2 separate regions of the Homo sapiens genome follow, and region 1 is linked to region 2. The links are contacts of gene promoters, found by promoter capture Hi-C in blood cells and fetal thymus (Javierre and others, 2016). All regions are on one chromosome and are shown on one strand. The core of a region is centred on a gene start or on the middle of the fragment in contact, and the rest is flanking DNA. Distances in the headings are between cores, read along the strand shown.

Region 1 (5,190 bases), core at 110-2,609, 280 kb before region 2:
TTATGTTTATAAGTATCTATGATGTTACGATAGATATAATTTGTTTTTGTCCATCCGTGACTCCTAGTTTTCAACTAGGAAGATTCCTATAAGACTTCTCATGCCCCAAGTACTAAAGCAGTAAGAATATCTTTTGTTAAAGTATTTGATTATCCTTGGTTCCTGAAGTCACTCCTAAAAGATAAAGTTGAAAGACAGTCTTTTGTTATTTACAACAAGTGCTTTAAAATACTCCTAAGCTAGAGATATACCCAATGTAAATAAACAAGTTAACGGGTGCAGCACACCAACATGGCACATGTATACATATGTAACAAACCTGCATGTTGTGCACATGTACCCCAGAACTTAAAGTATAATAATAAAAAAAATTGTGAAAGAAAAAGAAAAAGTTGATGAATCTAGGTAAAGGCATATGAGAGTTCATTTTACAATTTTTGTAACTTTTCTAAAGGTTTAAACTTTTTTTAATAAAAAGTTTTTTAAAAAGAAAAAATAAATACATAAAATAAAATACTCCTAAGCTTATGTTAATAAGACAATTTTTAGAAAGCCCTAGAAACAACTGGTTGGAGGGCTGATTCCCAGGGGAATGATTCATTGTGCCCAGAGGGTTGGATTTTTTTGTCTCAACCCTCAACTTCCAGGAAGGGGAAGAGGGGCTGAAAATTCAGTTAATCACTAATGACCAATGGTTCAATTAGTCATGCCTATATAATAAAGCCTTCATAAAACCCAAAAGGACAGGTTTTGGAGGGTTTCCAGGTAATACATAGGCTTACAAGAAGATGAACAAGAACTCATTGATGTGCAGGAAGTTTAGCACATTCCATGAGGACAGAAGCTCCTGTGCTTGGGACCCTTCTGGACCTTGCCCTATATACCTCTTCACCTGGTTCTTTGTTTGTATTGCAAAAGAAACTAAACTTTTTATTGTGAAATGCAATCTCCCTTTTAAATTATCAGGCCCAGAGAGACATTGAAATTAGATTACAGTCATGTCCCACCCTCTCCTCCTTGAGCTAAGTAATCATTTCTAAGCCACCTGCTATAAGGACTCTAGACTCAATTAACATAATGATGCCATATGCTGGCAGCATAAGTCGAACCTTATAGCCAATCATGAATCAAGTTATCTCTGTAAACCAACACAAATTTCTGAAAAGAGAACTTTTGTAATCATCTCCCCTAATTCTACCTTTTTTCTTCAAAAACTTGAGCCTTTTCTTTGATCTCAGGAGCACTTCCCAGTGTTTGCTGGGCTTCAGTCCTCAACCTTAGTCAAAATAAACTCTCTACCTATATTAATTTTGTCTTGGTTTCTTTGTTTAGGTCAACAGTATCCTTTATTATTTCCTTTATAATACACTGATAAACATGTTTCCCTGAGATCTGTGAGGTGCTCCAGCAAATTAGTTAAGTCCAAGACTGGGGGCATGGGATCCCTGATTTATAGTGGGTCAGTCAGAAGTACAGGCAAAATAACCCAGGGCTTCTGATTGGCATTGGAAATGGGAAAAAGTCTTGTGAGACTGAGCCCTCAAACCATGGAATCTGATATTATCTCCAGTTTAGATGATGTCTCAACAGAATTGAAGGACAGCCAGCTGGTGTTCACTCCAGAAATGATTGCTTGCCTTTTTGGTGGGGAGAAATCCCCACACGTTTGGTCGCAGAAGTCTATATGTTGTGTCTCTGGTGTGAGAGCAGAGGAAAAACAGTTCGAGTTGTTCTTTCTACTTGGTACTATTTTGGAAGAAGTATGTAAAACAGCAATCTATCTTAAAAATAGTTTCCTGTGATTTCCTGCCGTGTCTGACCCTCAGACCCTGACTGAGCGACGGATGAATGGAGTATGCCAGACACAGGTTTCTTGCCTGGCTGCATGGCTAGGGGACTGGGCTGCTCAAAGACCCTGAGGAGGGTGCCATAAAGAGTCAGCAGCCGCAGCCTCGACAAGCTAGCTTTGGGGGCATTTATTCAGTACAGATTTAATCACAAAGGCCTTGAGTAATTAACACGGTTGGGCCCCCCTCCCCACCCCTGGGGAGAGCAGTCCTGCACGCAGATAATTAAAGGCCAGGTTCCAAGGCCTAAGTAAACTAACTTATCTATATCAATTCCATTGTGCTTCCTTGTTATCTACTCCGAGAGAATTCAGCTGCCTTCAGCTATATCCTTTCCCCAAGCTTTTGCAAAACCTCCTGGCCTTCCAAGAAGATTTGCTTCTTTCTATAATTTTTCCCGCCACCCTGACCGATCTCCTATAATTTCCAACTTAATTTTTCTTGAAATCTAAATTGTTGTCCCAATTAATTTGAATTAAGTTCACTGCCCAGATAATTTTCAAAATGTCACTGCCCAGTATACATACATGACAAAGCAGGTTATGGTGGTAACACAGGTTATGGGAGAAAAGAGGAAAAAGAGGAGGCCTGACTAGCAAAGTTGGTCTTGTTATGTAGATGAAACTTCACAGGTAGTAGCCCTCAGAGAAAACAGGTAGTAAATCTTTTTTTCAGACCTTTAAAGATATCAGCCTATCTATCAGTTAATCTTTTCTGGATTTGCACAAGGGCTGGCCTCAAATAAAACCTGGCTGCATTAATGTAGATTTTCTCTGCAGTTGCAGATCCCCTCCCTCAAAAGACAGCTTTTCAGGGCTACTTCTGTTTGCTGGCTCTCTGAACAGACATCTCAAAATACATCAAAGAAGTATAAATTGGGGTAAAATAGTTTTATTTTCTTCAAAGGCAGGTGAGAAAGCATTTGTAGCTGTAGCCACAAATAGTAAATAGACACTTGGTGCTAGGAAATCTGGATACACTTCCCTAGTAAATAAAATTCTGACTCTCTAGGAGGAATCTTTCATATTTTAATCTTTATTCAATTTTAAGACACTTCTTTCCCCTACCCACATTCTCAACTACTCAATATGTAGTATTTTATGGAAAAAAAGGCAATGGCAACAGTTTTTCTGTAAAATGAGAACTAACTCATTTTTTCCATTATCCTATCTGTCAACCAAACTATATTTATAACCACACATGTGGCCTTTTATTTTATTACAGGGTAATATTTTATTTCATTCTACTTATAAACATTTCTGTTCCCATGTGTTGTACTGAACGCCTGTTGACTCCAATAGGAATGGCACCATGTCCAAGAGGCTGAGGAAGAGACCTGGAGCCTGTGAACAAGACGTAGGGATCATTGGGGACTTACATACGGGGTAGTCCAGGAGCAGTGAGTTGGACAGGAAAACTGCTCCCATGTGTGAAAACCATGCAGGATATATTATATTTTCACTTAGCCACCTCCATCTGCCAACCTCCACCTGCCAATCTCCATTTAACCCAAAACAAAGGGCCTCAATCCCCTGTATTGCCTGATTCCAAGCAATGGGCCTGGAGTTTGGAGGTTCTTCATGGATAAGGAGTGAATCCCCAGGTTGGCCATTCCTAGATTCCTTAGCTCAGAACACCAAACACACATTCTTAGACTATAGGGCCATTCTCAGCATGTGCTTGAATTACTGCTGTCAGGTACGTGTTCCATATACTATGTAAAGCTTTCTCCCTCTATTTGAGACTCCGTTTTTTCTTGCATTATTAACGACTTCACTTTTGAATTTATCACTTTTCTGTCTTACATCTTTTAGTTCTTTCCCTCTCAACTTGATTATTTGCATCAGAATAGAGACATGTCTAAAATTTTAATTTTTTATTTTTACAAATTCTGATCTATTAACTCTCTGAAATGCCCATGTGAAAGGAAAATAAAATCTTGGGACCCCCCCAGATACACCATGCCAAAGAGAGAAGCTAAGCTTGAAAACTCAGTCATGCAAAAACTGCCTTCCATTTTGTTCCTAAATAGCTGCAAGATAGAAAGCCACATATTGCCCCAGGTAGCCTCTTTCACAAATTGTTCACAAAGAAATTCCTTGTGGGCTGGAAAACCTGTACCCTAAAGGGAGTTGTCTTGAATTTCACCCTGACAATGTAAATTAACAGCTTATCTTTGCAATCGTTGGACAAAGATAAAGAAACCATCCCTCCACCCATCCTGAGACAAATACATATTTGACTTCTTCCTCTACTCTATGTCTATTTTTTATGTTATGTAAAATGAAGATTTACTAAGCTCAAGATGAACGCATAATTGACTGTTCCTCTGTCCTCTCCTTTCACATGTAACATGTGGATTCAGTGAGCACTAATCAAAGCCTCACAAGGATATGAACACTTATCTCACTACTTACCCTCCTTCTTTTTTTCTTTCCTCTTCCCCCTCTGCCATTCTTTCCCCCTTAAATATTGAAGTCCTCAAAGCCTTTTTGGAAAAAACACAGGTCACACATCCTGCTGTACCTTGTGTCTTTTTTCCTAGATGGATCCTCAAACATAGTGAAATAAACCTCTGAATTGATTGACACCTGCCTCAGACACACTTTTTGGTTTATATCCATTCTCCCCTTCTTTTCATTTCCTGCTTCAAGGAGGTTCATGTGTTATGCTGCCCCCGCTTTAATCATCAAAATTTTCAGAGTCCATAATCTGGATCCTATTTGCATCTATAACCTGATTGGCCTCCATTATGGAATTAATCACAAAGCTCAGAGCAAGTCAAGAGAATGACTAAGAGCAAGAACGTTGGTCCCATCTGGACCCTACTTGAAGCTCTCTTTGCCCAATTTGTTTCTTCATTTATAAAGTAGAGATAATAAGATTCTGTTTTTTTTTTTTTTCTAGTTGTGAGAATTAAATCAGCAGTCCCAATCTTTTTGGCACCAGGGACCAGTTTTGTGGAATACTATTTTTCTATGGACCAGGGCAGAGGCAATGGTTTCAGGATGACTCTAGTTCATTAAATTTATTGTGTGCTTTTTTCTATTATTATTATTATTATGTTGTAATATATAATGAAATAATTGTACAACTCACCGTAATGTAGAATCAGTGGGAGCCATGTTTGTTTTCCTGCAACTAGGTGGTCCCATCTGAGGGTGATAGGAGAGAGTGACACCCAAAGCATGCTGCTTATGTCCAATCTACTCTGTAATATCATTTTGGTTGCTGTCACTGCAGAAAACCCTGCTTCATAAAGATAGGATGTTTGAAATGGAAGCAGGCTTTTCAGTGCTTTTGTGGCAATCTCAGGAGATTCTGCCTTGACTTTAATTCAGAA
Region 2 (5,235 bases), core at 1,968-4,467:
AACTAGGGGTTGCCGGTTCTGGTTTGCACCGGTCTGGTGCAGGTCTTATCTTCCTCTGGTATTTGGCAAGGGATCATGAAGCTCCTGAAGCATCCTGGGCCATCTGGAGCTCTTTAAGCAGTGGCATCTATAGATAAAAAGGCTAAGGGGACATCCCATTACTGGGTATATACCCAAAGGACTATAAATCATGCTGCTATAAAGACACATGCACACATATGTTTATTGTGGCACTATTCACAATAGCAAAGACTTGGAACCAACCCAAGTGTCCAACAATGATAGACTGGATTAAGAAAATGTGGCACATATACACCATGGAATACTATGCAGCCATAAAAAATGATGAGTTCATGTCCTTTGTAGGCACATGGATGAAATTGGAAATCATCATTCTCAGTAAACTATTGCAAGGACAAAAAACCAAACACCGCATGTTCTCACTCATAGATGGGAATTGAACAATGAGAACACATGGACACAGGAAGGGGAACATCACACTCTGGGGACTGTTGTGGGGTGGGGGGATGGGGGAGGGATAGCATTAGGAGATATACCTAATGCTAAATGATGAGTTAACGGGTGCAGCACGCCAGCATGGCACATGTATACACATGTAACTAACCTGCACATTGTGCACATGTACCCTAAAACTTAAAGTATAATTAAAAAAAAAAGAAAAAAAAGGAACAGGGACAATCTTAAAAAAAAAAAAAAGGCTAAGGGAAAACAACAGTTTAAGAAAATAAGAAGCCCTCCCAGCTATTTCCGTAGGGCTCCCCTAGTAACAGAGCTTGTGAAGAAGAATCCATTTCCTTGCCTTTTCCAGCTTCTGGAGGCTGCCCACGTTGCATGGCTCATGGCCCCTGTCCACCTACAAAGCCAGCAATTGCATCATTCTGACTTCTGCCTCTAACATCACATTTGCTTTTCTGATTCTAACGCTCTTGCCTTCCTCTGCCACTAACAAGGACCTCTGTGATGACATTGAGCCCACCCAGATGATCCAAGCTAACCTTCCTCTCTTAAAGTCAGCTCATTAGCCACCTTAATTCCATGTGCATCTTTAATTCTTCCTGGCCATATAACCCACGTAACATGTTCACAAGTTCCAGGGATTAGGGCATGGGCATTTGGCGGTGTGTGGGCAGTGCCATTATTCTGCCTCCTACTCCTTCACACAGCATGCAAGGCTGTCCACCAAGTAGATGCCAACTGTCTTTCCAGCCTCATCTTCCACCATGTACCATGTATTGGATATATATTGCTGCATAACAAGTGACTTTAAAACTTAGGGGCCTAAGACAACATTTATTATCCCACAGTTTCTGTGGGTCAGGAGTCCAGGGAGGGTTTACATGGGTCCTCTGGCTTAGGAGGGTCTCTCCCAGGGCTGCAATCAAGATGTCAGCTGGGGCTGCCTTCATCTCAAAGCTCACTGGGGAAGGGTTCTTTTCTCCCTGAATATCGGCTGGAGGCTACTCTCAGGGGCCATATGTGGGCTTCTCCATAAGGCAGCTCACACTTAGCAGCTGCCTTCATGAGAGCAGGAAGGGCAAGAGAGAGAAGGCAAGCAAGAGGGAAATCGGTCTTTTGCAACCACATCCCATCACCTTTGCTGCATTATATTCATTATAATAGAATGTGGCCCCAGGCCAGCCCACACTCTAGGGAAGAGGACTACACAAGGCATGAATACCGGGAGGTGAAAACACAGGGCCATGTTAGAAGTTGTCCAGCACACCCCAGTATGTACCCTGTGCTCTCATCTCACAAAACTCACCCATGTTTCCCAAGGGGGAAAAAATGCTTTATTACCCATGTCTTACATTTGCTCATTAATTCACTCATTCAAAAAGTATTTTATTTCTACTGTGAGCTAGGTAGTGTTGTAAGGGCTAAGGATAGAGCAGTGAGCCAAAGAGACAAAGCCCCTCCCTCGTGGAGCAGACATTCTAGTAGGGAGATAAACAAACGATAAACAACCACACACTTAGTGCGACAGAGGGCAATGAGTTATAGCAGGCGAGGGGCATGAGGGGTGTCAGTGGAGGTGAGGATGTAGGATCTTATGTAGGGTGGCCTGGGAAGGCGTCTCTAAAAGCTTACCTCTGAGCAGAGACATGAAGGATGTGAGGAAGCCACCATGAGGCTATTTAAAAGAAGAGGGTCCTGGGCTGAGGGGGACATCATGTGCAAAGGTAGCTGATGTGTTCAAGGGGCACAAGAAGTTCTGTGTGATGGGAGCGGTGTGAGCAAAGGGGAAAACGCCTGGAGCTGAGGTCAGAAAGGAAACCAGGAGCCAGATCTTCTAAGGTCTTATAGGTCATGAAAAGGGCTTTGACTTTTATGCTAAGATGGGCGCCACTGGAGAATATCCCCTTAAAATGAGCTACTTTACATGCAGGAAAAAAACAAACAAAACTCCTTTCTTTATAATTTCAACATACCATTTTCAGTTCTCCCTTATAAAGAAGTATAATTTGCATTATAATGTAGCTACACATCTGAAATATGTATTCTTAATGGATCTCACATTTTCTAATTACTTACTTTAAAAGATAATATCTGAAAGCTTTGGGTGTTTGAGATGGCTTTTATCTCCAGATAAGGAAAGAGAAATCAAACAAAACCATTTCTGGGAAACCGAGGTCCATTTCTTGCCTAAAGTCAAACAACTTCAAAGAGTCTAGGCTAGAATCCAGGTCCAGGTAGACATCATTAATTTCACAAAGCCAGATGTCACCTGGCAGATCCCTGCCTGAGAGCCTAAAAGGACATGTTGTAAAGCAGGTGTCTAGGATCATAAAATGAGCTGATGCCTATGAATGGCCTAAATCCCAGTGAAGTAGTTACTAAAAAGCAGCCTGGTAACTGATTGGATACAATAAGGGCTAGAAGAGGTCTTGTTGATACTAGCACATTATCCAAACTTCCTGATGTCTGACCCAGGCCTTTGGTAAAGGACATTTTCTCAACATTGCCTTCACTGCATACCCAGCCCCAGGTTTCTCATATGACTGTGCAACCTAGAAGTCACCTTCAGACACCTTGGAGGGTCTATAGTCGGTAAACTTAGATAAGCAAATGAAAATTTACTTACTTGTATCAGGAAAGGAGAGGTCAGCACAGGGGCAGTTAGGAGAGGCTGGGTTGGGGACAGATTATTTAACAAAGGGAAGCACATATAAGAGAAGGTAAAGAAATATTCCACTTGCAAATCGCGGTACCTGTGGATGAGAGACATAGACGAGAGAGTGAGATGGCCTGGTTTGCCCTCTACCTCCTGAGCCTTCTCTGGGCTACAGCTGGGACTAGTACCCAGACCCAGAGTTCATGCTGTGAGTATGATGTTTTTCCAAGGAGGTCAGGGAAGCAGTTGCCCTGGGGAAGGGGCTGTGACCTCTGACACTGAGTGGTTGAAAATAGCAATCACTATAGGAATTCCAAAATGGGTAAGTCTGAGTGTGATTGTGTGCTGTTCATCCTTCCTGACTTAATAGCATAAGTTCTTTGAGAGACAAGTCTATATGTTTTTTATTAAGAGAGATGGGGCCAGGTGCAGTGGCTCACACCTGTAATCCCAGCACTTTGGGAGACTGAAGCAGGAGGATTGCTTGAGCCCAAGAGTTCAAGACCAGCCTGGGCAACATGGTGAGACTCCATCTCTACAAAAAAAATAAATAAATAAAAATAAAAAATTAGCTGGGCGCAGTGGCATGCACCTGTGGTCCCAGCTACTCAGAAAGCTGAGGTAGGAGAATCGCTTGAGCCCAGGAGGTCGAGGCTGCAGTGAGCTATAATCACACCACTGCACTCCAGCCTAGATGACACAGCAGCACCCTGTCTCAAAAAATCAATAAATAAAAATAATAGAGATGGAAGTACTACTGCAGGAATAATGGTTGATGGTACAAAGACAGACACTCAGTGGCTATTGTGACCAGACACCACTACATACTAGTGAGAGATTTTGGTACTCACTGAGGATAAATTATATCCCAAATCTTTAATACTCTTCATGAAAGAGTAAGGAAAAAAATGAATGCAAGGAAATCAGTGATTTCCAGGAAAGTGATAGAAACTATGAGAAATGTCATGAGCCATATTGCTTGAAGTTACTAAATTTAAAAATCACTTTCTTAAGGATATGGATTATTTGAGAAGATGTAGAAACTAATTGTCCTCAAAAGTAAAATCTCACCATTTTCTCCATTTCTCTTTAGTGACTTAGGACACTAATGCTAATCAAGTGTTCTCCTAAAAGGCATCAAAGATGGCCAGGCGAGGTGGCTCACGCCTGTAATCCCAGCACTTTGGGAGGCCAAGAAGGGTGGATTACCTGAGGTCAGAAATTCGAGACTACCCTGGCCAACATGGTGAAACCCCATCTCTACTAAAAATACAAAAATTAGCCTGGCGTGGTGGTGCACACCTGTAATCCCAGCTACTCAGGAAGCTGAGGCAGGAGAATCACTTGAACCTGGGAGGCAGAGTTTGCAGTGAGCCGAGATCGTGCCATTGCACTCTAGCCTGGGCAACAAGAGTAACACTGTCTCAAAAAAAAAAGAAAGAAAGAAAAAGCATCAAAGACACGGGGATAATGTTTTTGAGAAGGAATGAGGGTTAGAAGGTGAGTAAATGGCTTTCCTCTTCTCAGCCGTTCCCTCAGCACAGGAGCCCTTGGTCAATGGAATACAAGTACTCATGGAGAACTCGGTGACTTCATCAGCCTACCCAAACCCCAGCATCCTGATTGCCATGAATCTGGCCGGAGCCTACAACTTGAAGGCCCAGAAGCTCCTGACTTACCAGCTCATGTCCAGCGACAACAACGGTGAGACATCTGAGCCGCTCGCACTCTCCCTGAATCTCACACATCACATACCACCTCCAGATTCCAACTCAGCGTCCTTCCCACCCCAATGCTGCCTCTGACTGTAAATAAACTACCCAAACACCTTTCCTTACATACCTGGAAGGTACCTGGAAAGAAACATGTGTGAAGTCAGAGCATTCATGGAGGAGGTCAGTAAAGCAGGGAGAGCTCTGGACTAGACGTCGAAAGAGCAGCCTTCTGGTTCTGGCTCTGCCACGTCATAACTCTGGGATCTGAGACAAGTCACTGGATACTGCTCAGCCTCACCTTGCAGATGATTGTAGTAACAATAACCCTACTACTACTAATAGCAATGATAATAATAATAAAATCTCTGTTCTGCCTATCTCCCAGGA

What was found. The method cuts DNA at HindIII sites, captures the fragments that hold promoters and counts their contacts. A CHiCAGO score of 5 or more calls a contact.
Region 1: a fragment that was not itself captured here is called in contact with the fragment with the promoter of CBLIF in region 2 in 5 of 17 cell types (M2 macrophages, M0 macrophages, M1 macrophages and 2 more); the score reaches 10.6 in M2 macrophages.

Annotation. Positions count from the first base shown.
Region 1 is chr11:60,121,845-60,127,034 of GRCh38, reverse strand. No RefSeq gene overlaps it. Among named protein-coding and RNA genes, the nearest start is that of MS4A2, 36 kb to the right of the region's middle. The HindIII fragment of the contact is 1,665 bases long and covers 527-2,191 here.
Region 2 is chr11:59,843,481-59,848,715 of GRCh38, reverse strand. CBLIF (cobalamin binding intrinsic factor) reads left to right here and starts at 3,217. Exons shown (of 9, transcript NM_005142.3): 1 at 3,217-3,341; 2 at 4,661-4,837. The coding sequence starts at 3,263. The HindIII fragment of the contact is 3,325 bases long and covers 2,578-5,235 here.